Regions from separate parts of the Homo sapiens genome. Here all the other regions are linked to region 2. Evidence: promoter capture Hi-C in human tissues and cell types (Jung and others, 2019). All regions are on one chromosome and are shown on one strand. Each heading gives the region's core, a stretch centred on a gene start or on the middle of the fragment in contact. The rest is flanking DNA. Distances are from core to core; before and after follow the strand shown.

What was found. Contacts are between HindIII fragments. The study calls those that stand out against the background at their distance.
Region 1: a contact is called between the fragment with the promoter of ATL3 here and the fragment with the promoter of ESRRA in region 2, in 1 of the 25 tissues and cell types used here (thymus).
Region 3: a fragment that was not itself captured here is called in contact with the fragment with the promoter of ESRRA in region 2 in 2 of the 25 tissues and cell types used here (hippocampus and liver).
Region 4: a fragment that was not itself captured here is called in contact with the fragment with the promoter of ESRRA in region 2 in 1 of the 25 tissues and cell types used here (dorsolateral prefrontal cortex).

The regions. Positions count from the first base shown.
Region 1 is chr11:63,669,528-63,674,400 of GRCh38, reverse strand. It overlaps ATL3 (atlastin GTPase 3), which reads left to right and starts at 3,025. Exons shown (of 13, transcript NM_015459.5): 1 at 3,025-3,111. The coding sequence starts at 3,066. RefSeq lists enhancers at 2,509-2,618, 2,659-3,158, 3,159-3,660 and silencers at 2,709-2,828, 3,149-3,208, 3,239-3,498. The HindIII fragment of the contact is 6,643 bases long and covers 919-4,873 here.
Region 2 is chr11:64,304,013-64,307,536 of GRCh38, reverse strand. It overlaps ESRRA (estrogen related receptor alpha), which reads right to left and starts at 2,013. Exons shown (of 7, transcript NM_004451.5): 1 at 1,801-2,013; 2 at 33-369. The coding sequence starts at 357. CATSPERZ (catsper channel auxiliary subunit zeta) reads right to left here. Exons shown (of 5, transcript NM_001039496.2): 5 at 2,767-2,994. The coding sequence ends at 2,891. KCNK4-CATSPERZ (KCNK4-CATSPERZ readthrough (NMD candidate)) reads right to left here. Exons shown (of 11, transcript NR_133662.1): 11 at 2,768-2,994. RefSeq lists an enhancer at 1,317-1,386 and a silencer at 1,797-2,306. The HindIII fragment of the contact is 12,153 bases long and covers 1-3,524 here.
Region 3 is chr11:65,103,713-65,108,369 of GRCh38, reverse strand. VPS51 (VPS51 subunit of GARP complex) reads right to left here. Exons shown (of 10, transcript NM_013265.4): 3 at 643-789; 4 at 348-567; 5 at 1-173. Among named protein-coding and RNA genes, the nearest start is that of TM7SF2, 5.8 kb to the left of the region's middle. The HindIII fragment of the contact is 6,205 bases long and covers 1-4,657 here.
Region 4 is chr11:65,278,027-65,282,857 of GRCh38, reverse strand. It overlaps POLA2 (DNA polymerase alpha 2, accessory subunit), which reads right to left. Exons shown (of 18, transcript NM_002689.4): 6 at 3,935-4,128; 7 at 3,232-3,320; 8 at 1,711-1,866; 9 at 1,126-1,188; 10 at 337-379. Among named protein-coding and RNA genes, the nearest start is that of POLA2, 18 kb to the right of the region's middle. RefSeq lists an enhancer at 2,389-3,588. The HindIII fragment of the contact is 6,666 bases long and covers 1-4,583 here.

The DNA of each region.
Region 1 (4,873 bases), core at 1,776-4,275, 630 kb after region 2:
TTTTTGTATTTTTAGTACAGACGGGATTTCACCATGTTGGCCAGGCTGGTCTCCAACTCCTGACCTCAGGTGATCCACCTGCCTCGGCCTCCCAAAGTGTAGGGATTACAGGTGTGAGCCACTGCCCCCAGCCCCCAGACTGGTCTTGAACTCCTGGGCTCAAGAGATCCTCCCAGTTAGACCGCTGTGCTGTTGGCTGAAATACCAATAATGAAGTAGCTGACAAGGTCTTAAGCTTTCAGTATGTTACCATGTTGAGGACCTAATATTCAACTTTATAAGACCCTATCAAGTGGGGTTGGCTATTTTCTTTTTACAAATGAAGATGCCAAATCATTACCCCATTTTACACACATGCAAAATAAGGTATGGAAATTTAAATGATGCCCAGGGATGTAGTATTCCAACTTGTCCCTTCCAAGTTGCTTAAATAATGATCCTGCACATAGAGGGCAGAAAGCTGAACTGTGTCCCAGTACAGTCACAGTGAATGATATTTCCTCAGCTGTCTATCCCACAGGACTGCGAGTCTCTGGAGGATAGGAATGTGTCTTATGCAGCATTATGGCCTATCACGGTACCTGGCATATAACAAATGACCTATTTTTGGAAAGCTTTGGAACCTGAGTCATGGTGGATGCCATTGCAGAAAACAATTTTGCTATTTTTGTGTTTCATAAACCACTTGAGTATCTTGAATATTTATGACTTTATTTTGCTTTTCCAGAATGAATATGCTGATTACTAATTTTGATCACTAACCACGCAGTCATCATTTCCAAACACACAGCTCACTTAGCCTAGAACAACCGTGTGGGTCTTTAAATCATTTTGCAGATGATGAAATGGATTCAGAGAGGTTAAGTAGCTCGCCCAAGGTTGCATAGCTAGTGAACATCAGAGCCAGGTAAGTCTGACCCCAAAGCCAGTAGTCTGTCCACTCAAATATGTCTACATGTCACCTACTTCTGGAAAACCTCAAGGGAAGCTCAACCTCTGATCATAGCACATAACTCAATTCAGAGTGAGATAGCTGAAGGCAGGCTGTAACCAGTATTGTCAATATTTGGCACTTTCAATGTCCAGTGTTTTGATGACCCTGGATATTTGAGAAGGAAATAACACAAAACATGTTTCTCATTTACAGGGGTTGCTTTCTAAGTTGTGACTAATCCTTAAGTCCACCTATAATTTGTACTGTTTTGTTCCAAATGCCAAAAGCTTCTACAAGGGCTACAATGCTGATGTGCTAACATTGACCTTGATACCTTGATGATGTAATATTGAGACATATATCAGTATTTGCTGGTCACTTCCTGAGAAGTTGGATTTCAGTGAATCTCTGGGGAGCCCTTAAAATAAACTAGGGTATTTTGTTCAATAGTAAAAGTTAGGTATTTAATATTAAAGGAACCAGAAAGTGAGTGAGCAGTGTTAGATGTAACATATATCTTCTTCATCCATTAATTCAATAGATATTTGAGTCTCTATTATCTGCCAGCAGTATTTAGGGACTGGGGATATACAAGTAAACAAAACAGACAAAAATTCCTATCTGTTTGGAACTTACATTCAGTGGGAAGAGACAAACACAATGAAAGGTAAAACATAAGTCAGATAGTAGCAGGAAGTCTTTTTTTTTTTTTTTTTTTTTGAGATGGAGTCTTGCTCTTTCTCCCAGGCTGGAGTGCAGTGGTGCCATCTCCACTCAATGCAACCTCTCCTGCCTCAGCCTCCCGAGTAGCTGGGATTACAGGCGCCTGCCACCACGCCTGGTTAATTTTTTGTATTTTTAGAAGAGATGGGGTTTCACCATGTTAGCCTGGCTGGTCTTGAACTCCCGACCTCAGGTGATCCAACCACCTCAGCCTCCCAAAGTGCTGGGATTACAGGCGTGAGCCACCGCGCCTGGCCAAGTGGTATGAAGTCTTTTGGAGAAAAGTAATGCAGGGAAAAGGAGCAGAGAATGCTGGGATGTGCGTGCAAGTTTTTTTTTTTTTTTTTTGATGGAGTTTTGCTCCTGTTGCCTACGCTGGTGTGCAATGGTGCGATCTCGGCTCACTGCAACCTCCGCCTCCTGGGTTCAAGCGATTCTCCTGTTCAGCCTCTGGACTAGCTGGGATTACAAGCGTGCGCCACTACGCCTGGCTAATTTCGTATTTTTAGTAGAGACGGGGATTCTCCATGTTGGTCAGGCTGGTCTCGAACGCCCACGACCTCAGGTGATCCACCCGCCTCGGCCTCCCAAAGTGCTGGGATTACAGGCGTGAGGCACGGCGCCCGGCCTGGACTTCTTACATTAGCTATCAGAGCGGTGATGGTGCGCATCAGCCATGGCCAGGGACAGGAATATAGGGAGATGATAATAAAGGTGGTAATGAAGTCACGGCCACCTGCCCTTATGAAGTCAAAATCATTAAAGACCCAGTGACGTTCATGCCATCCAGGGTTGAGGCCTCTCTTCTGCCCACCTGTGGTCCCAGGCCTAGTTAAACACCAAAGCTGTCTCTCACACTGGTGGTTCCAGGATAAAGCCTCGGCCTGGGGCCTGGTCTGCACGTTAGGCGCCGGCCGCAGCTCGCAGGAGGACCCGAGCCAGCCCGCCCCTTCCCGCACAGCCTGCTGGGAGTTGTAGTTCAGTCGTCGGAGAACCACGCCAAGCCCCGCCCCAGATGAGTGCGCAGTATGAGGACCGCTGGCCGGGACCCAGTGAGCGCGGGACTACAATTCCCAAAGGACGGTAGCACTCAGCGCCCCGCCAACAGGTACCCGGCGGCTCGCTTCGCGCACACGCGGCAGGCGGTGGCGGGATTCTGCCGCGTGCGCTTTCCCGCCCCGCCTCGCCTAGCCTCGTCCTGCGCTCGCCACGCCTCGGGCTGTCCGTTGGGCCACGCAGACCGCGCTGCGCTCGCTCCGTCGCGGCTCCGCGTGCCCCACCTTCTGGCTAGTTTTTTCTAGAGCCCAGGCTCCGCCCGTTTCCCGCTTCCAGGGCCCGGTTCGTTCCCGCCCGCACCCGTCCCTCTCCTCTGCACCCCTGCTGCTTCTGCTTTGAAGGCGGAGGCTCCATGTTGTCCCCTCAGCGAGTGGCAGCAGCTGCCTCAAGAGGAGCAGGTGAGGCGCCGATTTTCCCTGGATCGCCCCGCGGCCACCCCCGCCGCCTTCCCTGCTGTAGTTCTGAAAAGAACCCCCGCCCGCGCCGCCGCCCTTCCTCGTCCCGGGGCTGGGACCGCGCGTCCCTCGCCGGGGTCACTCGGTTTCCGAATTTGTGGTGGGGGGGCCCCTCTTCGGGCCCAGCTGGTCCAGCGAGGGCGGCACCTTCCTTACTTTTCGGCCGGGGGCGGCCGCCGTCAGGGCTCGGGCCCTGGTGCCGCCGGGGGCTCCTCCAGCTCCTCCCCTGGGCTGCAGCTGCCCCTGGGCGGCCCAAGGGCCGGTGGTCCCCGTGGGCGGCGTCCGGAGCTTCGGCCCCGCCGAGCCCCGCCCTGGGCAGAGCCGGGCGCCCCAGGGCGCTGCCCCTCCGTGCCCGGGCACTCAGCGCCCTCTCTGGTCGGAGAATCGGGGCCTGGATGGAGCGGGAAGGTGAATGCTGGTTTATTTGGCCTTTCTGGAAGTGCTGGAAGGCTGCGAAGTGTCTTGGAAGCTTTATTTTTATCCTAACGACCTTGAGGCACTGACCACAAGTATTAGGAAAGTTGGTTTTCAACCCATACTTAACGCTGTAAAGAATTGGTCTAAATTGGTTTTTCGTAAGTTAGTGCTTTTGGCACAGTACGTTGTTCTTTTGCTTTCCCGAAGACATGAAACATAGTGAAAGTATTAAAAACCAAATAAGGAGTCACCGTGTATTCACGGATCTGATTTAGTCTGTCATTTTACTTGGCTTTATTCTAGTGTAATGTGTGTGCTGTTGAAATGACCGTTTCACTTGCGAAATCGAAGAGCAAAAAGGAAAAGAACAGTGAAGAATTTTTAAATGAGTCTCAGTTCTCAAATTCAAATACGAAGCAATGGAACGTTTTGTCAGTCTTAGAATAACGGACCAAAAATGTACGATTTCACATATTGGCTTACTTTTGGAGATTTAAGAAGCATAACCTACGGAGTACTAATCCCTGTCAAGAATTTAGCATTGCAACATAGGTACTGAAATTCAAATTAGTGCTTTTTTTTTTCCATTCCCACAGAGATTAGCTTGTACTCCAGAAATTCCTGTTGCCGCTCTAACACCTGTAAACACTTGGCTGAGAAGGATCTCAGTATTGCAGTAGTCCAGCACATTGTTTTATTATTATTTTTTGAGACGGAGTTTTGCTCTGGTCACCCAGGCTGGAGTGCAATGGCGCGATCTCGGCTGATTGCAACCTCCGCTTCCTGGGTTCAAGCAATTCTTCTGCCTCATCCTCCCGGGTAGCTGGGATTACAGGCGCTCTCCACCATGCGCGGCTATTTTTTTTTGAGACGGAGTTTCGTTTTTGCTACCTAAACTGGAGTACAGTGGCGCAGTCTCGGCTCACTGCACCCTCCGCCTCCTGGGTTCAAATGATTCTCCTGCGTCAGCCTCCCGAGTAGCTGGGATTATAGACATCCGCCACCAGGCCCAGCTAATTTTTTGTATTTTTAGTAGAAACGGGGTTTCACCACGTTGGCCAGGCTGGTCTCGAACTCCTGACCTCAGGTGAACCACCCTCCTCTCCTCGGCCTCCCAAGTACTGGGATTACAGGCGTGAGCCATCGTGCCCGGCCCATTATTGTATTAGCTACAGTTTACTACCTCATTGTAGTAGAATTCATGAAATAGAAGTAACGGGATAGATGTGGTGTTGTGTACTAGCTTAATTTTCTTTTTCTTTTCTTTTTTTTTCTTCTGGTGAGAAGG
Region 2 (3,524 bases), core at 764-3,263:
GCAAAGGACAGGGGAGTGGGCTGGGGGCTCACCCTGGATGGTCCTCTTGAAGAAGGCTTTGCAGGCCTCACAGGATGCCACACCATAGTGGTAGCCGGAGGCCACGTCCCCACAGACCAGGCAGAGGCGCTTGGGCAGGGAGCTGAGCACCAGCTTCCCACCGCCCTGCTCGCCAGGCCCAGCCCCCTCCCCATCCTCCTCTTCCTTGTGGCCTGGGAGGCAGCGAGTGGGAGCTGGACCAGGGGCCAGGGCCACAGGAGGCTCGGTCTCTGTCTCCGAGGAACCCTTTGGACTGTCAGGGCTGGCCGGCTCTGCCTTGATGTAGAGAGGCTCAATGCCCACCACCTGGCTGGACATGGCGCTGGTCACCTGCACGGAGAGACCCATAGGTTCGCAGGAAAGCACTGGTATGGGGGATGGGAGACACCCTGCCACACGGGTTGCCCAACCTCGGGCCTAGGGCCAGGCTTCCAAGCCCAGCAAGTGGGGAAGAAGGGGGGCAGAGTCCAAGGAAGGACTGCCCAGGAACACTGCCCCCTCCTAGCTGTTGCCATGGAAACAGAGTCTTCAGGGCCAGTAACTGACAGCAGGTCTCCCCCTTGGGAACCTGGGGGAGGCTTAGAAAGCCCCTACTCCCACCCAGGCCAGGGAGCAGGGTAACCGTAGCCCCCAGGCAACCTTCAACCCCACCTGGAATCCCTAGCCAGGAGCAGGATACTTCCCAGTTTTCTCCAGATGTTGGGGGGACCTCTGAGACCCTGCCCTCATCTGGGTATTCTGCATTGGAGAGCAGACCCAAGGCCAGTGGACGTGCTCACACCGAGTTCACACACTCCACTCACCGGGGTGCTCAGGAGCCCCACAAGCCCACGCAGGCTCGCTCTCTGCTGAGGGCTTTCACACTTGCACCGGCCTTCCCAAACCCGTGCTCACTCCTGCTCACACTTGTGCTCACACACTTCTCCTGGAGCGCACACCCCATCCACGAACTCAGTCAAGGCTCATGATCACACACACTCTCACTAGGTCTCCCCACATCCACACGCACAGGCACGGACTCATGAAAACACCTCCAGAGCTTTTCACACCTGACACGCGGCTGCCCTCCTGCCCCAGCATGCCGGTCCCAGGCACACGGCGGGCGCCGCTCCACCTCCTCGCGACCAGCCTGCAGGTCCACTCTTATACTCCCGCTGTCGCAGAGGCCGCCACCTCCCGGGGCGCCGCGTCCCGCCCCCAACCTGCGCACACCTTTGGGAAGTTGCCTAAAGTTGCTACGCCTCCCCCTCCCCGCCCGCGGGAGACCTCTACCAGGTTATCAGGAAGTAAGTGGGGAGAGCCAAGGAGGAGGAAGTTCTCCCCTGCCGGTGCGATGACCTTTGACCCAGAGAGGAGGGTGGCCCCAGGCCCCTTCGAGCGCCCCCACGTGGTCTTCAGAGCCCCTTCCCAGACATAGAGCCCTCCCCGTCTTCCACCCCGGCCAGCCCCAGGGACTTCGGCAAATGCGGGATTGAACCCTGCCCCGGAGCGGGCTGGATCGGAGGCCCAACCCTGACCCGAGTCAGGACCCGCAGCCAGAGCCAGATCCTGCCCCAGGCCGGCCCACCAGGACTCGGACGCCGGATCCCGCCTGAACCCTGACCAGTCCGACCCTCGACTGGGTCCCAACCGTGGCCCGGACTGGCCCCAGAGTCGGACCCCGCCTGCAGCCCGCCCCGCCCGCCTCCCTGCCGCGCTCGCACATGGCCCCCGCGCCCCGCCCGCCCACCCCCGCGGCAGCGCTCCCCTCCGCCCCCGGACCTGGGGCTCCGGCAGCGCGGTCGGGCAGGCATGGGGGCCGAGCGGCCCGGAGTGCCGGAGTGAGCCGGGGGCCGCGGGCGGCCCCTCCTCCGCCGCCTCCTCGGGCCGCGCCGCCCCACCGCGCCGCGTCCCCTCACTCGGCGGCGCCGCCGGCTGCTTGTAGGACACAAAAGGACATCGCGGCCGCTTCCTACTCCGCTTCCTCCAGCTGACAGCGGGGGTGGGGCCGGCCGTGCGCATGCAAAGCAGGGGGCGGGGCCCGGGGTCCTATGCTAATCAGACCAGCGGGGCGGGCGGCGCCTGCGCGCCCGGACGAGTCGGGGCGGAGCCGGCAGCGCCAGTGGGCGGGCCTTCGTGCAGGTCCCGCCCCGCAGCCCGCCGAGCCACTGCGGCGCACATGCGTACGCGGCCCCTGGGAGGGGCGGGGCCGGAGACGCGGAGGGCGGGGACAATAGAGCCGAGAGCAAGTGGGGCCAGAAGCGCTCTTTCGTAACGGAGGAGGCGGGGCTTGCTGCGCGCGAGAGGAGTGGGCGAGGCGGTGCAGGCTGCAGTCGCGGAGCCAAGAGACCACTTACAGATGAAAACGCAAGGGCGGGACGAGCGGAGAGGCTGGACCTGCTACCTATGCTTGAGGGGCGGAGCCTAGCGCGCCGTCGCGAGGAGGGAGGTGCTGCCCCGTTCCCCCTACCCCCTTCCCCCAAAGCGACACCAACTGAGCACTCGAACCGTAGACCCAGTAGCCCCACAGAGCTGCGGAACTCGGGGTGGGTGAAGCCGACTTAAAACATGCAATAAGTCCTGGATTGCGAGTCCCGGAAGGTAGGGCCGATAGGGCCCGGACGGAGAAAGCTCAAGGTCACTGCGGTGACCGAATGAAGGTCACTGCGGTGACCGAATGAAGGTCACGGGGAAGGGCGGGGCCACGTGCGTCCGCCTCACGCGGGCTGTCCTGCACTGACTCACGGACCATGCATCGACTCTTTTATTTCTTTAGGACTCAAATTCCACTCGGATGGGGTCAGGCTTGGGTCTGGGGACCGGGCTGGCACGGGGCTGGTTCGGGTCGCTGCTCGAGCCCAAGGTGGCGTTTTTAATTCACGTACAGCCTCTTGCTCCGGCGCTTCTTGAGCCCTTCGATGTATCGCTGCAGCTCCTTAGTCAGGAAGTGGTCCCTGCCGATCCCTAACTGGTAGCCTAGGAGGAGGGCAGAGCTCGGCTCAGGGCAGTGAGCAACCGAAAGGTCTCCCCACCAGGGGGCGCCGCATGTGTGATTCGAGGAACCGCAGATGATTCGAGGTAGCAGTAGCGCAGGGCACTCAGGTCTGTGTTAGCCTGGGGAACTTTGCATCTCTAAGGGTGCTGAGTGTTAAGGTGGAGGATGGATGAGGTCAAGGCTAGGGAAGAGGTTGCAGGCCTGAACTAGGGCGGTGGTAGCGAGCAGTTTGCCCACCTTCTGGACCAGCCACCCACTCTAAGCCATCAGCTGGCCCTTTATCACCGCTGGGCTTTCCTACCACAGCAGCAAAAGTTCACCCACATAATCCACTGTCCAAAGGCTCCTCACAACTCCCCAACCAGAGGCAGTCGAGGCCACACCAAGGCGGTCATCCCACTGTGCAGGTGGAGAAACAGCCACAGAAAAGCCTCCCTCAGCTGGAGAGGGGCTGCACTCAGCCTGGAGCCCAGGCCTCTGCCCATCACCACATGTCCCCCACTGGGTCTTC
Region 3 (4,657 bases), core at 1,849-4,348, 800 kb before region 2:
CGTCGGGAGCCGGAGGTGAGGGCCCCAGCTCGGCCTCCAGGTTTCTCAGCTCCTTCTCCAGCCGGCCGCGGGCGTGCGCCAGGAACTCCTCGCACAGCTCCTCCGCAGGCTCGCCCAGGGCCAGCAGCAGCTCCACGCACTCTGCCTGCTCCGGGGCGCCTGAGCCGCCCTCCCTGCACGAGGGAGAGGTAGTGAAGGGCAGGGCCGGGGCTGCCGGTGGATGGGGCAGGAGCAGGAAAGCAAAGCACACACAGGGCAGGGGGACAGCTCCAGGAGGGCCCAGGAGCCGGGCACAGATGGGGCTCGGGGCTGGCGGGAGCGCTGGGGTCAGGGCAGAGGGGCCACACCTAAAGCGCTGCCGCAGCTGCTGGGCCAGGCGGGCCGTGATGACCTGGCAGTCGTCCTGGATGGCGCGGAACGAGGGCAGGTGTTGGTACTGCTGCAGCACGGCCTGCGCGCGGCCCTGGTAGCGCACCGCCTGCCCATAGGCGCCCAGTTCCACGCACTTGGTGAGGCGCGAGGGCAGCTCAAAGAGGAACTGCAGCTTCCGCAGCAGCGCGTGGACCCCTGGGGGACGGAGGGTGACGTTAGCCCCAGAGCCCCAGGAAAGGCCCACTGCAGGCCCTGCCCGGCAGCGCCCACCTGCCAGCTTGGTGATGCGCTCGTGGCGGTCCTGCAGCGTGGCGCTGATGCGAGCGCTGAAGTCGGTGATCACTGCCATGTTGGTGGCCAGCCGGTCCATCTCATCCTCCATCTTCCGGAAATCGTTCTTCATCTTCCGGATGGTGTCTAGGAGGGCAGGGGCGGGGAAAAGGGGAGAGCAGGTGACTGCAGGGCGGGCGCAACCTCAGCTCCTTCTCACCCACCCCTTCACAGACGCCCCAGCTTGCTCCAGGGGCGCATGGATGATTCCAGAGAAAGGACTGCGAGGGCGTGGGTCACAGCGCACATGGGGGCGGGGGAGGGGGTTTATGTTCCCAAAGCAGGCGTTACTCACATACTCCCCGTAACCCCCTAACCCTGGTGCCCAGGAGAGCCGGCCCTCAGAATTAGTCCAGATCCGAAGCAGGCCGCAGGTGCTTAGCCAGCTGCCACCACTGTGCCTCAACTGCTCCATCAGACCACAAGCAGCCAAGGCAGGGACCGCTGGCTCCCAAGCGCATCTGCGTGTCCAGCGCACTGCCTGGATGAGGCAATACATTCTTGTTGACCCTCATCTCCTTTCCAGACCTCCCAAAGCCTTTCACATGCTTTCCGGAACATGGGCTGTCTTCTCTGAAGGGCCCTTTCCCTTTGGTCCTGATAGAATCCTGCCTAGGGAGGCTGTTTTTCCTTTCACACACCAGGTGCCTGGGAGCCTGGTCCCTTCATGCTTCTAAATCATGCCTAGATCTCCTCTCTTCAAAACCCCGGCTTCTAGGAAGACCATGCCATCAAGCCACAACCCTCCTCTTTGCTGTCTCTACTGTCCTCTGACACTCCTCTCAGTTCCCCATCACTGCCTCTTCTCCTCCTCCTGTCACCTCCTTGTGCACATCCACATGGATGAGCCTTCCAATGTTCCTGACTGTTCACTGACGGCCTCAATTCAATTCCACCTATTCTTTTTTTTTTTTTTTGAGACTGAGTCTCGCTCTGTCGCCCAGACTGGAGTGCAGTGGCACGACCTCTGCTCACTGCAAACTCCAATTCCCAGGTTCACACCATTCTCCTGCCTCAGCCTCCCAAGTAGCTGGGACTACAGGTGCCTGCCACCACACCCAGCTAATTTTTTGTATTTTTAGTAGAGATGGAGTTTCACCATGTTAGCCAGGATGGTCTTGATCTCCTGACCTCATGATCCGCCCACCTTGGCCTCCCAAAGTGCTGGGATTACAGGCATGAGCCACCGCACCCGACGAGGTCTGATGGTTTTATAAGGGGCTCTCCCTGCTTCGCTTAACACTTCTCCTTCCTGCTGCCTTGTGAAGAAGATGCCTTGCTTCTCTTTCACCTTCTGCCATGATTGTAAGTTTCCTGAGGCCTCCCCAGCCATGCTGTGAACTGTGAGTCAATTAAACCTCTTTCCTTTATAAGTTACCTAGTCTCGGGCAGTTCTTTACAGCAGTATGAACCTGGATTAATATACCTAGTAATCAATCCATTACCAAGTCATGGAAGGTCTACCTGCAACATTTTCTTTGTAAGCCACTATCATCTCTTGTCCAACAACTGCCAACATTTCCCAACTAATTTCCCTAATTCCATTGAACATACCAACAATGTTCATAAAGAAAGGCGAAGAGGATAAGACAGAAATGTGTATCTGTAACAGGAGATATTTTGGTTTTGTTTTGTTTGAGAAAGAGTCTCACTCTGTCACCCAGGCTGGAGTGCAGTGGCGCGATCTCAGCTCTGGAGGCTCCTGGAGGGTGGCACGCCCGGGGAGGGCATGGAAACTCCATGCTCCTTCTCCTACACCTCGCCCTATGCACCTGCTCATCTGTACCCTTTGTAACATCCTTTGTAATAAACTGGTAAATGTGTTATCCTGAGCTCTGTGAGCCACTCCAGCAAACTGAGCCCAAAGAGGGAGTTATGGAAACCCCTACCTGGAGCCAGTTGGTCAGAAATTCTGGAGGCCTGAGGCCCTGACCTGCAGCTAGTGCCTGAAAGTGGGGAGGCAGATTTGGGACTGAACTAGTGCCTGAAGGGAGGCAGGCTTGGGGACTCAGCCCTCAACTCATGGAATCTGATGCTATCTCTGGGTAAATAGTGTTGGAATTAAATCAGAGGACACCCAGCGGGTGTCTGCTGCTTGGTGTGTGGGGAAGAAACCCAACACATTTGGTCACAGAACTCTTCTGTGGTCATGATTGTGGTGATGTGAGAGCATAGGAAGCACACAGTTTGCATTTTTCCCAAACAATGCCATAAAATATATACAAACCTTTCCATATGGTAGATCACAAAGAAAAAAACCTCATTCTTTTTTTTTTTTTGAGACAGGGTCTCCCTCCGTCGCCCAGGCTGCAGTGCAGTGGCGCGATCTCAGCTCACTGCAACCTCCACCTCCTGGGTTCAAGCGATTCTCCTGCCTCAGCCCCGAGTAGCTGGGATTACAGGCACGTGCCACCATGCCTGGCTAATTTTTGTACTTTTAGTAGAGAGGGTTTCACCATGTTGGCCAGACTGGTCTCTGACCTCAAGTGATCCACCCGCCTCGGCCTCCCAAAGTGCTGGGATTACAGGCGGGAGCCACCGTGCCCAGTCGAAAAAACCTCATTGTTAACCAATTATGAGGTCAGAAAAGGAAATCAAAACTGAAATTGCAGCATGGGTAAAATACCAAGAAAACACTAAATTGGTAAGGGCTTGGTGAATTCTATGGATGAAATGGATAATTTGCTACAAAAATAGGATTTACCAAAATGGATTGCAAAAAACAAGAAAACAGAAACAGAAAAACTAGAGAATGTTGTGAAAGAAAGGTCCTACTCCCCTTTCCCCTCCACACAAAGGCATCTGGCCCAGATGTCCAGGGGTGTTGCGGCGGCTTGAAGGACAGCGCCTTCCAATTCTCTGTGTAAACACTGCCCCAGCAGAGAAACGAGAACAGCTCTCACACAAACTTGATGGAACAAACATAACACTGTTATGAAAACATAACAGAAATACCTCACATATACACATTCATATCTCTTATGAATGGAGATGCAAGGATGAATTAAATAAACAAATGGAGATGCACAAATAAGCAAACAAAATCCAGCAGCATATTAAAATAATAATTGATAAACACAAAAGGGTTTTTGTTTCATGAATGCCAGGATGACTCAAAATTAGAGGATCTCATAATAATTTGCCATGTTAATAGATATTTCAACATCTATTCTTGATTTTTAAAAAACTCTCAATAACATATGAGCAGCTAAATATTTCCCTGACCTCCAAAACTCAGTATCATGTTTACCGAGGCAGTGCTAGAAGCACTCCAATTAAAGTCAAAACATGGCAAGGACAACCTTGATTGCCAATGTTATCTACATTGTTCTGGGGCATTAGCCAACTCAGCTAGAGTCACGAGATGTATTATGGAGATACACAAATTGGAAAGGAGGGAGAAGTATCACTATTTGCAGATGATATAATCAAATAAATAGGCCAGCCACGGTAGCTCATGCCTGTAATCCCAGCACTTTGGGAGGCCGAGGCAGGCAGATCACTTGACGTCAGGAGTTTGAGACCAGCCTGGCCAACATGGTAAAACCCTGTCTCTAGTAAAAATACAAAAAGTAGTTGGGCGTGGTGGCAGGTGCCTGTAATCCTAGCTACTGGGAAGGCTGAGGCAGGAGAATCGCTTGAACCCTGGAGGCACAAGTTGTAGTGAGCTGAGATTGTGCCACTGCACTCTAACCTGAGTAATAGAGCAACACTCTGTCTCAAATAATAATAATTGAATAAATAGAAAGCCCTAAAAAAAAAAAACAAAAAAAAACACCCTGTAAACGTTACTATAAACAATAAGAGATACCACTTTTCACTTCTCAGATTGTCAAAGATTGAAAGAGGTATTCTCTTCTTTGCTGGTGGTTATGCAAACTGATCAGCATTTACAAAGAAGAATCTGGAAATATCTAACTGCAATCACTTGTGAGCCTTCACACACCCACACCTG
Region 4 (4,831 bases), core at 1-2,500, 980 kb before region 2:
CGCATCTGCCCATGCTGCATGTAAATAAATTCTTTTTGAAATCGTACATCTTTTCCTTTCCAAGGCAACCTTCAAAAATACCTGTTAAACATTAGTCTTTAAACAACATGCTTCATGTAGGCAGAACTCAGGCGACAGCACGACCAACGCTCACTGGGCTCAGACCAGGGGTCTTGTGACAAAAAACCTACGAACTCATGATGGTGGCGCCCTCACTGCTTGGTCACATTGCTCTTCAGCAGCTTCTGCAGCTTTCTTGGGCTTGGGAAACTGCACTCCTGGACTCATGTCTACCATCCTCATTGTTGGCAAAACAATATTTGAACCGAAACTCACCTGCATCCTCTTCAGTGGGCTGATAAAATGGAAGTGGCACACCCTAAAAACAGGGGAAAAGCTCAAGTAAGGTCTTGCGCCAGGCATCACCTTGGTAAGGAAAGGGGAGGGCACCAGGTTGGGGGTGGTGCAGGTGTGTGATGGGAGGACAGTGGGGAGGAGCGAGAGGGCAGGGGAAGGATGTGCCTCTGTCTTGCTCCCTGGATCTGATGGGACCTGCCATTTTTCTATACTGCTCAGAGGGCAAAGAAACCCAGGTAATGGGAGGTCACTACTCAATTGTCATAAAATACCCAGCAACAAGTGGGAGCAAAACAGGTGCCTAAAGTATCAGTGTACTTCTAGGCAAGGATGGGAGAGAATGGTTTCTTGCTACTTTTCCTGGCATTCTACGAAAATCTCTGGAGGATTGTTGCCTAGAGCAGGGATAGGTAACCTTTCGGCCTCTGGGCCAAATTTGGCTGCAGCCCACTATTTAAATAAAGTTTTATGGGAACACAGCCACAGTCATCTGTTTAAGAGTCCTCTATGGCTGCTTTTGTAGACAAAGGCAGAATTGAGTCATTGTGACAGAGACCATATAGCTACAAAGTCTAAAAGAGTTACTGTCTGGCCCTTTATAGAAAGGGTTTGCTGACCCCTGGCCTAGGGGTGGGTTCCCACTTACAGATGGAGAACTGACTAACAAATAAATGGGCTCCTAAAAAGGACCAGTTTCTAGAACAGACAGCTTCCAGACATACTTTGTCTGAAGCAAACCAAGAGGCAAGTGGGGGTACTGCTGTGTACCTCGTAGAGTTTGGTGGCAACAAGTTTCCTACCAGTGGTGTTGATTCCTTCCATAATTACAACCTGAAAGACAAAAACAAACAGGATTGCTAAGCAGTGGAGATCAATGAGGTCTGGAATACATTATTTTGAGGCAGTTAAAAGCATTGTCCAACTACTCTCATTCTGTAATCATAAACTTAGGGCATTTTTGTAGAAAACGAATTAAGGGCGTTGCATTAGTAATAATAATTATGCTCTATATAAGTGATCTAATTTTCACAACAATCCTATGAGGTAAGAATTATTATTTCCATTTTGTGAGTGAAGAAACTGTAGTTTAGATGGTTAAGTACCTTGTGCACAGTCATGCACCTCATGGAGCGGGGAGTTGGGATTTGAGGCTGCGCAGTCAGGTCCCAGAGCCTGGGTCAGAGCATGGGGGAAACAGGAATCCCAACAGTGGTGTCTGCTCTGGGGCATGTGCTCCAGCTGCACCCCATGGCAGCAGAGACAGGAACTGAGGAGCAGCTGCGCATGGCACAGCACCTACACTACAGGGGTAAAGAGTGCGCCTGCATTCTGGTGGAACTCCTCCAATCTCACCTGTCCAGGAAACAGAGAATATTCCTTAAGCTCAGATAAATCCACTGGAATTTGAGCACCCGAGGAATGTTCCCGGTCTCCCTCGAGAATCACTGACTTGTTGTTCAGCTTCCCGTTGCTATCACAGCCAATCTGGCCCAGCAGAGTGACAGGCTCCTACCAAAGGAAGGTCACAGCATAAGAATGACAGTCTTTGGAGCAGGAGCTCAAAATCTGAAGTCGATAGGGTGAATAGCAAAACAAACTGCAAACAACAAATACATTTCTTGGCAGGGCATTGCTTTGACCCTGAGGTGACTACCGCGTCATCACTGACTCTCAGGATGGAAGAACTCTGAAAGGGCATCTTGTCCACCCATCCACCCAGCACTTGAGCCTTCCTAGGAGGCTGCCTAAGTGTGAGCATCTCTAGTGTAGGGGAACTTGCCCCTGGATGCCTACCCCACCCTGTCCTCACCACCCCAGGGCAGCCCACTGCATCTTTGGGCAGCTATAACTACTTAATAATAGCTAACATTTCTTGAGCTTACTAAATACCATGCACTGTTCTAAAATGTATTCTTAGGCATTTTATATGTATTAACTCATTTAATCCTTGCAACAACCATCGGGTGGATATTACTGTATCCATTTTACAGATGAGGAAAACAAGCAACAGAAAGGTTAGATAATTTAGTCAAGGTCAAACTGTGGGTGAAGCTTGGGTTTGAAACCAGAAATTTGGCTCTAGAGCCATATCCTTAGCCACATACCATACAACCTCTTAACAGGAAGTTCTTTATTAATTGAGCTAAAATCTCTGTCTCCATGGCTTCCTCTGTTCTGTTCCCACTCTTGGGAGAAAACAGAGGAAGTCTCATCTTTCCCAGTGATTGTGCCTCCCTGCCTTCCCTCAATTACTTCCTTCCAAGTCCTCTAACACTTCCTTCTATGACACAGTTCTGCATCACTTCCCCAACTGATCATTCTTTGAATGTAAACATTGACAAAGGTACTTTAAAGAAACTTCTAGAATATATTTCCCCTTAGATTAGAAAACATTCTAGAGAGAAAGCACTGGTATATATGCCAGATTAAACTATGATATAAAGATACTATTGGCAGCAGTTTGTCTATAACAAGAGACCAAACCAGGGGAGAGACTGTGAGTCATTGTCCAGAGAACAAGATTCTGAAAACCCCACCGTCGCTGCTGTCCTTTTATCTCGATACGTGAATGCTTCTATTTGTGGGAAATCCCCGGGGAGCTACCTGACTCACCACCAAGGGAAACAAGGCCTTGAGTCTCTGCTTATGTGCAAGACTCTAATCCAAGTGGGAAGAAAATCACTCTCTGGCCACAAAACCAGACAGCACTTACAAATCTTTCTTCAGAAGGGCCCATTTTCCCAAATTCAACCAAGACAGATGTTCAAACTAGAACACAGACAAGAAGTGAAAAAGGAAGCAAGAAGGATGCCTCTTGGTCATCGATTTAAAAACGTAATATTAATTAGTGAGAACTATTAGAACAACTCTTACCTGTGCTGGGGCTAGCAAAGGAGTGAAAGCTTCAATCTTGTAATGTTCCTTGAGTTCGCTGCCAAGTTCTTCTATCTTACAGGTCAGAACTACAATCCCAGAAGTGGAAAAAAGTATTATGTTTAAGACATTTCACTTGCCAAGAAGAGAAAATACAGCACATTGTAAAATATTAAAGTCAGTCATTTTACAGAAGCAGGAAGGGTGCCTGGACATCTGGCCAGTTTAAACCTTCTAAAACCTTTGCCAATTTTCCGATATTTGGTTGCTGAATCTGGCCTTCCATCTGGCCACAGGAGACCCCATAGCACAATTCCAGGGAATCAGCATGAACCCCACCCCATCTCCAAGTCTGCCCTTTACTCAAGTCCTCACTGAGGTTTTAGGCAAGTCAAGGCCAACCTGAAGAAGGCTTCTAACGAAGGAACCATGAATATCTTTAAGTTGAATTCCTTTACATCGTTCAAGTTTTTGCTGCTGGGAATGGTTATGTGCGTTTTAGCAAAGTGAAGTGACTTGGGGCAATCACTGATAGTATTGCCCGTGTCCCTCCATTACTAGGGCTTCCATGAGGACATCTACCAACTCATACATTGAAAGGCAACCTTGGAACTTGTTCTACCAGCCTAGCTGAAGCTTTGTTACTCTACACCCTTCTAGGTGGTTTTATATCCACCAGAATTTCAAAGGGAAAAACAATCACCTTCTCGAATGTCTGGGAGCTTCTGAAACATGGATTTGTAGCTCCCAGTTAGTGCCTCTGGACATCCCAAGACCTTCAGGCTGATGTTTCCAGCTCCTCCTCTCCCAGACCAAGATACTCCCTGTGCTAAGCCGAAGGAGGTAACCACTTCTCCTCGGTTACTTCGTGAGTTGTATTTCTGGGAGGGAGTAGCACTAATTGGAAGCAAAACAGGTTAATATTACTGTGTTCATATCTAAAGGGAGAGAAGAATAAAATGAGGTTACCTTTGGAAATGGGGACTGGAGAAAAGGAAGGTGGCCTCATAGTTTATAAATTGAATCAGTTTAATGGGGTTGGACATACCCAGACCTTTAAGGAATTTCAGGAATGAAGGGCTGAGGAATACCAGGCTGAGGAATACCAAACATTTTTAGAGAAGTTTAGAGACAGAAACGTATTTTAAAAAGTTGTCGTTCTCTTGGCATTAAAACTAAGCAAGGCAAAAAGATCCCCAGATTCTGAATTGATTAAAAGGCAAACTTTAAGTCCCATTTTTTTCTTCTCATGAATTTTTAGCATTTATTGGAACATCATCTGAGCCTGCAACTGTGGATAAGCTAAAACTTGCTGAGCATATATAAAAACTCACAATATGGTTCAAGGTAGAAACAACAATAAAATGAAATTCAAATTAATCAATTTTCCCCAGTGTCTATGGAGGTGGGTAAGTAATGAATTAACAGTCTGGTGATGTGCAAACATTCCCATTTTTCTAGGCTCAACTGCCAAGTTCTCACATTTCCACTCCCTGACTGGTAAATTATACCTCTAAGAACACATGGATATTGCTGATCTGCTTAGATGACAGTGAGGTCTTCTAATCCTCTGGTTGTAAACACGCCGTACAGAGAGGTC